Linked DNA regions of Homo sapiens: all the other regions are linked to region 2. Evidence: promoter capture Hi-C in 16 types of primary human blood cells and fetal thymus (Javierre and others, 2016). All regions are on one chromosome and are shown on one strand. Each heading gives the region's core, a stretch centred on a gene start or on the middle of the fragment in contact. The rest is flanking DNA. Distances are from core to core; before and after follow the strand shown.

Region 1 (3,348 bases), core at 149-2,648, 1.0 Mb before region 2:
TGAGGGAGATAAGTACACAATCCCCAGGATCACTTATAGGTATAAGATTCATCAAGCCAAAAGTTGTAATCTAAAAATAAATAAAAAACAAAGTCTGTTTCATAATTGATTTTCATATTTTGCTATAGTTTATCAAATCTACTTCTCAGAAACCTGTCAAAGTTTTAGCTTAGAATACTTTTGTTGCAATACTTATACTTTAAACAAAATTTTAGTTTCTGATGAAATACAATATTTCATGATATTGTGCATATTGGTTTCCCATCATCAAAATTTATGCTCACTTACAGAAAATGGTACTTCTTATTCTGATAAACCTATAATGTACCTCTTAAAGCTTTGTTATATACTGGTTTTAATAGTTTCCCATATAGATCATATCTTTAAACATAAAGACAATACCTGTTACATAATTGATACTCAAAAAAATTTGGTATGGATTAATGAGTTATACTTTAGGTGTAATAATTCACAATACCTCATATATTAGGTATTCAATACATAAGTGCTGATTGATAGCTTAGTAAACAAATAGAATGGATGGTCTTAAGGGATTCAGAAATTGTTGGTGCTGTTAGGTATCTCTGTGTGCTTTGTTTTAAAATACCGAATTAGGATATTGTCTTTAGAAAAATAAAAAGTTAAAAGAGTTCTGTATGTCTTTAAATGTCAGCAATTAACAAGAGGGAGAAATTATCCTAGGTGACAATGTGGGACTCCTATCAAATTCACCATCAAATACAGTGTAATTCCTGGAGAGTTATTTACACTCCTTTAATGTTTTACCCTTTATTTTTGTTCCATTCCTTCTAGAGTTCTCTCTTTTAGTGGACAGGGAAACTACAAAATGGAAAGACTGTTGTAGGGGTTCTCACGCTATCACTTGGCTCATGATTCTCTTTAGTGACAGAAGAGATTATGAGTAAGATGCCTCAATGAGGCAATCTCACACAGATCCAGGAATACTGGACTTTTCACCACCTTACTCTTCCCAGCTCCAACTGAGACAGATGCAGGTAAAATTCACTTCTACTTTCATAGTGAACTGCTGAAATTCATGACAAAATACTGAATTCCTGAAATTATGATGCAGTCCTTTATAATACACAGACTATTATACCCTAAACATAATCAGTTAGTATACAGCACAGAAGGCATAGCTCATTTTCATACAGAGTAGTCTCAGGAAGTGATGTAATGTCCAGATTGGCATTGTCCAATAGAAATATAATGAGAGTTTATATGTAATTTTATTTTTTAAAAGAGCCATATGTTTAATTTTAAATTTTCTTTACTTTTCTTCTTTTTTAAAGAGATAGGGTCTCACTCTGTCACCCAGGCTGGAGTGCAGCGGTGGGATCATAGCTCACTGAAGCCTCAAATTCCTGGTCACAGTGATCCTTCCGCCTTGGCCTCCTAATGTGTTGGGATTACAGGCATGAACCACTGTGTCCTGCCTTTATTTCAGATTTTTTTAGTAGCCACATTAAAAAAGTAAGAAGAAACTGATAAAATTAATTTGAATATTTTCTTTGACCGAATCTATTGAAAACATTATTCAACATGTAATCAATATTAAAATACTAATCAGATATTTAATTTTTTTGTATTAAGCCTCTGAAAACTTTTTGTATTAAGGTTTATATTTTACTTTCATAGCACATCTCAATTTAGATACTAAATTTTCAATGGCTAAAGTGAAATTTAGTCCTGCTGAAACAATAGAGTTGTGTCTAACAGAAAAATGTTTATACTGCTTCAGTTTTAAAACTTAAATTTAATTAAGAATTCAGTTCCTCGGTTGCACTAGACACATTTCAAGTGCTGAATAGGCACATATGACTAGTAGCTACCATATTGGCCAATGCAGATCTGGATCATTCAAGACAAGCTGGGGAGGTCTCTCGTAATTCAAAAGGAGGTAAGAGGATCATAACTGTGTAGGTAGTTCTGAGAATGCCTAAAGGAACCCCCTGCCAAAAAAAAAATAAAAAAAAAAAGTAGCCTTTTGCTGTCTTCTAGAAAGTGGATAAACCACAATGTATCCACGTTATAATGTATCCTCATGCAGGATAACAATGCTTTAACAATTATTGTTTAACTAAATACACCATCTTTATACACTGATTCTCAGAAAGAACTCTTACTTCCCTCATTCTGTTAGTAAAAATATGATTATTATAGTCCCCAAGGAAACCTGAGTTACCATTCTTGGTTTCCATGATGATCTCTCTCTCCCTCCCTCCCTCTTTTCTTCCCCCCCACTCCACCGCAATGAGGTACTAAGTAATATTCCTTCTTCTCTTCAGTATTTGAAGAGATATTTGAAATTATCTGATATTTGAAATCTGTCTTCAAATACTGGAAATATTTGAAAATATTTCCAATACCTCTCCACTGACACCATCCTAGTCCTGGCTTCATCCTTCATATCACACCTTGATTGCTGCAAAAGCTTTCTCACTGATTTTCCTATTCCGGTCTTTCCCATCTAATCCACATTGTACACTTGCATGACATTAACTTTTCTAAAACATAATTTTCATTGTCTGACTCCTCTATTAAAACATATTTGGTGGCTCTTCTCTGTGCCCAGAATAAATGTCTCATTATTCTTACTGCTTTTTTTTTGTTAACCTCTTAATCATTTTCATTTGGTGCCAAAGTAAACATTTTTCCGTTTTTGTTCTTCAATAGTTTAATATATTATTTTTCTATCTCCTCCCATCAATGGCGATCTCTTTAAAGGTCAGGGTTATATAGTACTCCTCTCACAGACCCTTCAATATGTTATGGTGTAATCTTCACAATGACGCTCAGTAAATATTTGTTAATTTGGAATATATACAGTATAATCTCCAGCTTACAAATTGCTTTCTTATATGTTTCCTGGACATGAACATGAACAATGTAGGTCACAGAGACAAACTTCATAGTCTATCCATGTTTCTCGACTACTACTCAAGCATTTTGTTGTATTAATTATACTAATTGGTAAAAAATACAAATGTCAGTGTATTTTTAGCTTATGACCAACATGATCAATGGAGCCCCTAGAAACATAATTCTTTTTAAGCCATTATGTTACTGTGTTTGCAATTGACGAGAAGTTTTAATAAGTCAATGCCTGAGGAGAAGCAGAAAGGAAACAGGATGAAATTAAAACAAGTACCATTATTTAAAAGGAGTGATGGCAACTTTTTTCAGACTAGTTAAGTGCAGCTTGTCACCACCAACAGAATTATACCTATTACCTTGAAAGTGTAAAGCTGTTCTCCATGATTTTGCTAGAAAATGATGTTGAAAGAGAAATCATTTGAACAAATTTGTTCAGTGAAACTTTGTGAG
Region 2 (3,428 bases), core at 1-2,500:
TCGTGCTGGTAGTTGCAGAACTCTGGGTAGCTGGCGGTGGTGCCCATGGATTGGGTAGTGGATCGCGATTTTCTGTGCGGGAAGGCTGCGTACCTTCCCCAGAGGAGGAACTACTCCCCACGGAGGCAAATGGATTACCCCCAAACTGCTCTTGTGCGGCATTCAGCATCGGCTCTTGAATGTCAGTGTACATGCGCCGTAAAGCATTATAGCCACCTGGGATGCTTTCTAGATTGCTAAGAGCCAGGTCTTGATTTCTCATCATCTCTTGCATCATGGCTGGATTCCTGGCAATTTCGAGTGTCTGCCTCATTATGTCTGGGTTGTTGAGCAGGTGACTGATTTCTGGGTTTCTCTGAATCAATTGCTGCATCTGTGGATTAGCCATAATGAGCTGCCTCATCAGATCGGGATTCGAAAGCATGCTCTGAACAAAGGGATTTTCCATTATTTGGATCATCATCTCAGGGCTGGCCATAAGCTGCTGCTGCATCTGGCTCTGGAGCTCAGAGAAGTTGGTCGAGCTCAAGCCCAGGCTGCTAAGGCCTGCAAGTCCTCCCAGGCTCCCCAACCCAAACGGGTTGCTATTTGTGGAAATAGGTGTGGAGTTACTCCTGGGAGTCGACGCCGAGGTAGTGTTAGTTCCCGCGGCATTGCTAGGCTGCGTGGACTGGCCCTGAGGTCGGTTCTGGCTTTTGATGACAAGGTGAACAGTCAGCCCATCATGGATGCCATGCTGGATCAAGGTATCTTGATCTTTTAAGATTTTTCCGGCAAAAATCAGCACTAGCTGATCGGTTTGGGATTTGAAGCGTTTCGAAATCGCTTCCTTAAACTGCTGAACCGAGCTGTTCTCGGGCACCGCGAACTCCTCTTTCTCTTTGGGAGTCTTCACCGTGACTTTGATGATTTTAGGCTCAGCCGGGGCAGCAGCCGAGCCTTGGGCCGCAGCAGGGCCGCGGGAGGGGCGCGGGGGGCCGCTGCTCTCGCCATTCTCAGCCATGGCGGCCGCGGTGACGCAGGCGGGCAGGGAAGGCGCGGGCGGGCGAAAGAGAGAGCGCGAGGGAAGGAGGAAGGAAGGAGGCACCGCCGCAGCGGGCTGGGCCGGGTCAGGCGGGGAGCGCGGAGCACGGTACCTCTGTGATGAAGACTGCGGTTCCCTGGTCCTCCGGTGGAGAAAGGCCTGGGCGTAGGCCGCTGGCTGAGGTCTCCGCGCTCCGGTCTCTGGGCCTCCTCCGCCGCCGCCTTGTGATCCGACCGCGCGCACTCCCAGCAACTCTGGCAGCCGCTCCGCCTGCTGATCCCCGCCCCTTCCCCTCCCCCAGTTCCGCGCTCGCCTCCCCGCCCCCTCTGCTGACGCGGCGCCAGGCCTAGATTGATAGATTTGGCTCGGTCAAAATTAAAAACTTCTGCACTGAAAAGAAAAAAGGGAGAGAGAGAAACAAAGGGAGAGAGAGAAGAGAACAGAACAGTACAGAGCAGGCGAGGCAGAGAGGGTGAGACGGAGAGAAGGAGGCGGTAGAGAGTCAGCTTCTGTAAACGACATTAAAAGACCAATGGAGAATGTATATTAGCAATCTGTAAGGCAGTAAAAGGGTGAAAGCCTGAATCGAACAGATCCCACGTATAAGACGAAAAATGAATAATAAAGAACTCTGACAAAGCAAAAAGAAAAGAGGAACACCTCCAGTAGGGGAAGGGAAGAAGACAGAGCAGGAGCGTGCATTTTACAAAAGGAGTGCAAATGGCCAATAGACATTAAAAAAGGATGATTAATTTCACTACTAATAAAAAGAAATCAAGTTAAAACAATAAAATTCTACTTTTGGCTTATCATATTGGCAGGGAAAAAAATAATGGTAAACCTTCTTGTTGACAGGGACCCTAAAAAATGCCCTCTCAGGCTAGCTGAAGTGTGAATTGTTACAACCATAGGGCAATTTGAAAATATATATCAGCATTTTGAATGTTTCCACCTTTATTTAGAAATGCCTAACCTAGACACTTCGCCTAATAATCGGATGAGGATGCAAAAATATTTATGTATAAAATGTATATACATTGTAGCATTTTAAAATGTTATTTAAATATATTAACTATCTGTTTACATGAGATTAGTTGAGCACATTATCATATTACCATACAAGAAAATATAGAGTGTCTTTAAAGGTATACATGAAATAAACTGTAGTTATAGGGAAATCACAGAGTATTTTCAATTATGCCTTTGTATATTTCTGTACAGTTACAAACTATATAAGAATATATGTTCCAATATCAAAAATACAATAAATATATTTTTATTTTAAAAGCAATTTTTGAACAGTTTGTTGTATATGTAAACCGTATGTGTAAAAAAATCTGGAAGGCTATGCACAAATAAGTTAATGGCTGTTAGTACTGTTTGCTGAAATTATGAATAATTCTTATTTTCTATTTTCATAAGATTTTGAATTTTCTGATGATTTTTGTAAGTATGCACTACAGAAAGGTATTTTGGGGAAGAGTATGGGTAGAAATTGACAGGCACATAATAGTAGTGGCAAACATTGACATATTTACCTAATTTAATTACAGATTAAGTAAGAGCAATAAAGATGTAGCAATGCTGAGAAAGAGAACTTGAAAAATAGAAGAAATAATTTCAAATTTATCTATATATTTCTAACTCTAGGTTAAACCACACAGAAAATTCTTCCCCAACCCCCACCCTCTACCAAGCATCCACCAAAGCACCACTGCTTTCAACATTTAACAGCATTTCAAAGTCATTAGGTCACAAATACTTTAATAAATCTGAAGATAAGAAAAATATATATATACAGGTATGTTATATCCATCGATGGAGAAATGGAAGAATTAATATTATTTTACCTCTCTATTTTATTAATATAATTAATAAAATACAGAGGTAAAAAGATGACTAGCTTTAAATATGTTAATATGTATAGATCTAAAAAGCCAAATTAATTAGTATTAGGTTGATGCAAAAGTAATTGCGGTTTTTGCCATTGAAAGTAACGAATTGTTACTATTATACAATGGTTTTTGCCATTGAAAGTAATAGCAAAAACCGCAATTACTTTTGCACCAACCTAATACATGCCAAACAGCACTCTAATACATTCTTATGTATATTTGAAATATTCTTTTAGAAATATACCAAACTTGCACCCATGAGGAAGAGGAAATGGAATAGGATACAGGATAGTGAGTAAAGGGAACTTAAATATGTAAAAATGCTTTTTATCTTTAAAATGAAAGCAAATATGATAAAATATCAGCAATAGTTAATTATGGGTGGTGAGAATATGAAAATATTATAGGTAATCTTTAATTTCCATAGAATAAAGCTAGATATTAATAATCAAAGTATGAACAAAAAACCAACCATTTGATTATTAAAACATAACTGAATACTTTTGGGG
Region 3 (3,765 bases), core at 314-2,813, 1.1 Mb after region 2:
ACCTATTTTTCTTTCCCACATAATCTAGAACATTCTTTGGACCTGGAGGATGTGTACTAGGGAGTATCCCTAGAATCTAGACTGGTGCCTCACATAACAGGTGGTCAGAAAATGCGCAAGATGTACTATTCGTTAGGCTTTTATTTTTCTCTATGTTCTGCAGTAACTAAGGAAAATCATGGTAAATGTCAATCTTCACACAACAGCAGACACAAAGGGTTTCAGAAACGTCAGATATGAAGAAATCCTCCATCCTTCTTCAACATTTTACTGGGTATTTCAACTTCAAAAGAACAGCTTATTTCTATAAGTGCTGTACAAGATCATAGATTATGATGGAACGACTTCATTTTAGAACGTTAGCAAAACTGTTATACTAAATGTCAATGACAGGAAACAAAGAAAAAAATTTGTTCAATTATATTTTTAAACATATTGTTATTCTCAACAAACGGAATTTTAAAACGAATACAATTTTCCATTATCAAAAGCAAACACTCTATTTCGCAGTTGAACAATGATCACTGATCACAAATATCAAATACAGTGTCCCCCGCCCCCAATCGACATCATTTTCAACTTAGGACCCTGGCATCTACTCCTTGGGGTACCTGTGACTCTCTTTTACACCCCCAAGGGTCTGCCTCAGATCTACTTAAGGGGCGGAATAACCCCTAGCACCTGAATTGAGGATAGCCTCAACCTCTGCATCATCGTCCGAATCCCAGTCATAATTACAAGGCCAGTCTTTAGAGCATCGGTTACGAACCCTTGCCACAAAATGCATGACTTTCAGTTTGCTCGATTCCACGTGTGCTCGGGGCCCCCAGAAGAACTCATACTCCACCGGACTGCTACGGGGCACCGGTTTATAAATCAGGTACCCTCTGCGCACAAACTCTTCTGTGACGATCTTCTTCGGATCTCCAAAGATGCTGTGCTGACGTCCAGGCTGCATTCCTAACTTCCCCAGCACTTTCCAGACCAGAGCTTCCTTGGCGCTGTTGCCCATGATGAAGATGAGCGCTAATATAGACATCAGGAGACTTTTCTTGGTGCCCTGAAAATTGCTCCGGGGCACTGAAGGCTTTTGTGCTTGGGCAGTGCTCGAGGCTTCTTCAGGGGTGGTAGAGGCCTCCTCTGGAGTGCTCGGGTCTTCCTCGGGGCCGCTCAGGTCGTCTTCGGGGGTGCTCGCTACCACAGAGGCGGCCATAGGGGTCTCGGAGGCCTCTGAGGCCTGGATTTTGCGATTGTTGCGGTTCTCTTCTGCGGCTCTCGCATTACGGCGGCGCCGACTCTTTCGTCCCCGAGGCATGTCTCCTGCTAGAGGCTCAAAGCTTACAGCAGTCCTAGGGAAGGATGCTTGTAGCCTCTTCAGGAAGCAACAGCTTTATACCGTAAGAAGCTGCTGCCGCTGAAGCTACCAATGTCAATAGAGTCTTTGTAGCAATAAACAAGCCGTTCTCAGCTACAAAGGGTAGTTCCCACGCCAGCTGACTTGCGCGAGCAGCCGCCGCCAGCACTTGCCGCAGCTGCAAGCCCGCGAGAAAGCTCAGCAAAATTGGCCCCGCCTCTCCTGCCACGCACACTCCTAGCACCAAAGAGGAAGTAGGCTGGTCCTCCACAGGGACTTCCGCTAGCAGATAGGAAAAGGGGCAGGCAGCGACAGGGGTGGGACAAGGGCAGAAATGACAGCTAGAGATTGGAGGGGCCTGGAGTTTGCAGAAGAGAAAAAAATAGCTTAAAGTTTCTGTATTTTCAGCCTACTACAAACATTCCAAGATTGGCTCGACGGTCTAGGGAAGGAGTGCGTCGGCTCCATTCCCACTGACGACGGGCTGTGTGTGTGTTGGGGGTTGGGAGGCCAGGGGTGGCGGGAGGGTGTATTCTTGGAAGGAGTCAGCTGTCTCCAGCCTTCCTTTCCTGTCTTGGCTTACACAGCGCGTTCATTCACTCGCCCTGTTTTCAGAAGGCATTTGTGTGTATACTAATCAATTTGTGGTCCCATGTAGGACCCGGATAATATTGTTATGGCAGATGTGCTGGATGATGTGAGGAGATGGGACTGCAGAAACAAGCAGGGTGAAAGAGGTGCAGAGCCTTTAAAATGTGGTAGATATATGCACGATATATATACTGCCCTGCTTTTATACATACATACATACATACCTATATCGTGCATATATCTACCACATTATGTTTATATACAGTGCATATATCTACCACACATATATGTATGTATGTATGTATGAAAGCAGGGCAGTGACAGGATCAGAGGAATTGCATTTGTGCAGCCTCTCAGAAAAGCAAACTGTTTCCTGGCAGACCACATAGGAAGCAATTGGAATAAGAAGCACTGGGAACTAAAGTATGCCTTAAGGCTGTTGCCATGGGGATGGAGAGGCAGAAAGACATTTTAAAGGTGACCGTTGAAGGGCTTTGCAGACAGAATGGATGAAGTGGGGAATGTGGAGGGGATGATGGAGTTCAGATTGGCTCCAAGGTTTCTAGGCTCCAGTCTTCCTGGACTCCTGATTTATTTTGCTTCTTTCAGAGCATACTCTGAACTTTATCCACTGCTTGCTTTTGCTCACTGTTTGCTCTGCCTGACCTGTCTTCTCAGCCTTCTCCAACTATCTAAATTCCATTTGACTGCTCACAGACCTGTTTCTCCCTGAAGCTTGTCTTGATCTGCCCAAAAGGGTAATGAGTCCATTTTTACTCCATTGAGGAAAGCCCTATAACTAGCACTCTATATCTTTCTTATGTCATTCAAGGTATTAGTTTAAGCAAGTCACTTCTCTCTAAGCCTGTTTTCCCATCTATAAAGTGGGGCTAAAGTACAGCCCTCATAGGGTTGTGAGAATTAAATGAGATAAAAAATGAAAAGCATTTATTACATGGTAAGCACAGATTTTGCCTCTCAAGGTTTTCCAAGCGGTGTGTGAGTGTGGCATTTAATAAATGCGTGCTGAAGGAATTCATGATGGAAAAGATTTTATAGGTGTTCTTAACTGAACTCTTAAGAAACAAATGAATACTTTATGCCTGTCTTGCTGAAATTTTCTTTATAATTAGAGCCCACCGAGACCTCCTGTTGGGTAAGTTAGCAATAAATCAATTTGGTCAAGCAAAGAAAGCACCTCTCCAGGACACAGAGCACTCTTGAGCCAGCCCTCCGTTTGGGATAACCTTTGCACGCGTTCTGGGACATGACCTACTCAAAACAGTAGTCTGGCTCCATCTGCTGTCCCACATTCTGAGAATTCTCGCAGTTTCTGGTCCATTGATAATTGCTCTGAATTGTTTTTCAGTACAGGTATGAACTTATTTTACTGTTTCCAGGAATTTGGGTCTTGCATGGAAGTCTATAGCATGTACAATCCTACCCTCATGAAACAAAAATGGGAGGATTACTTTTGCAGTTTATTTGCTTGTTTTTAGCATGAATTTTTTTTTACTGCGACTTAATCTCAAACGTAGGGCAAAGAAGAGAGATTAATATTATAAACACCAATAGCTAGCTGTATAAAATTTAAATATTAGGCCCTACTTACTGTTTATCTTTTATATATTGGATATGGCAAAACCCTCCTATTACGTCTTCCCTGACCCACTCTGCTCTCTCCTTCCCCACTGTGCTCCTCTATAATGAAGTCAGCAATTATGCCCATGGAGACTTGTATATATTTGCTACCTACTTCTGTGTCTGTACACAATATAGAATCTCTTCCTTTATTTAAAGCACGTCTTCATAATGTATAC

Evidence for each region. Contacts are between HindIII fragments. The CHiCAGO score rates a contact against its expected background, and 5 or more counts as called.
Region 1: a contact is called between a fragment that was not itself captured here and the fragment with the promoter of UBQLN2 in region 2, in 1 of 17 cell types (non-activated CD4 T cells). The highest score is 7.0, in non-activated CD4 T cells.
Region 3: the fragment with the promoter of MAGEH1 here is called in contact with the fragment with the promoter of UBQLN2 in region 2 in 1 of 17 cell types (fetal thymus); the score reaches 11.3 in fetal thymus.

What each region holds. Positions count from the first base shown.
Region 1 is chrX:57,597,626-57,600,973 of GRCh38, reverse strand. No RefSeq gene overlaps it. Among named protein-coding and RNA genes, the nearest start is that of ZXDB, 7.3 kb to the right of the region's middle. The HindIII fragment of the contact is 2,118 bases long and covers 340-2,457 here.
Region 2 is chrX:56,561,449-56,564,876 of GRCh38, reverse strand. UBQLN2 (ubiquilin 2) reads right to left here and starts at 1,250. Exons shown (of 1, transcript NM_013444.4): 1 at 1-1,250. The coding sequence starts at 1,003. RefSeq lists enhancers at 254-313, 324-523, 920-1,547. The HindIII fragment of the contact is 11,191 bases long and covers 1-3,428 here.
Region 3 is chrX:55,449,925-55,453,689 of GRCh38, reverse strand. MAGEH1 (MAGE family member H1) reads right to left here and starts at 1,563. Exons shown (of 1, transcript NM_014061.5): 1 at 124-1,563. The coding sequence starts at 1,315. The coding sequence ends at 656. MIR4536-2 (microRNA 4536-2) reads right to left here and starts at 2,195; the gene lies at 2,108-2,195. MIR4536-1 (microRNA 4536-1) reads left to right here and starts at 2,108; the gene lies at 2,108-2,195. RefSeq lists enhancers at 1,101-1,150, 1,301-1,350. The HindIII fragment of the contact is 1,343 bases long and covers 1,340-2,682 here.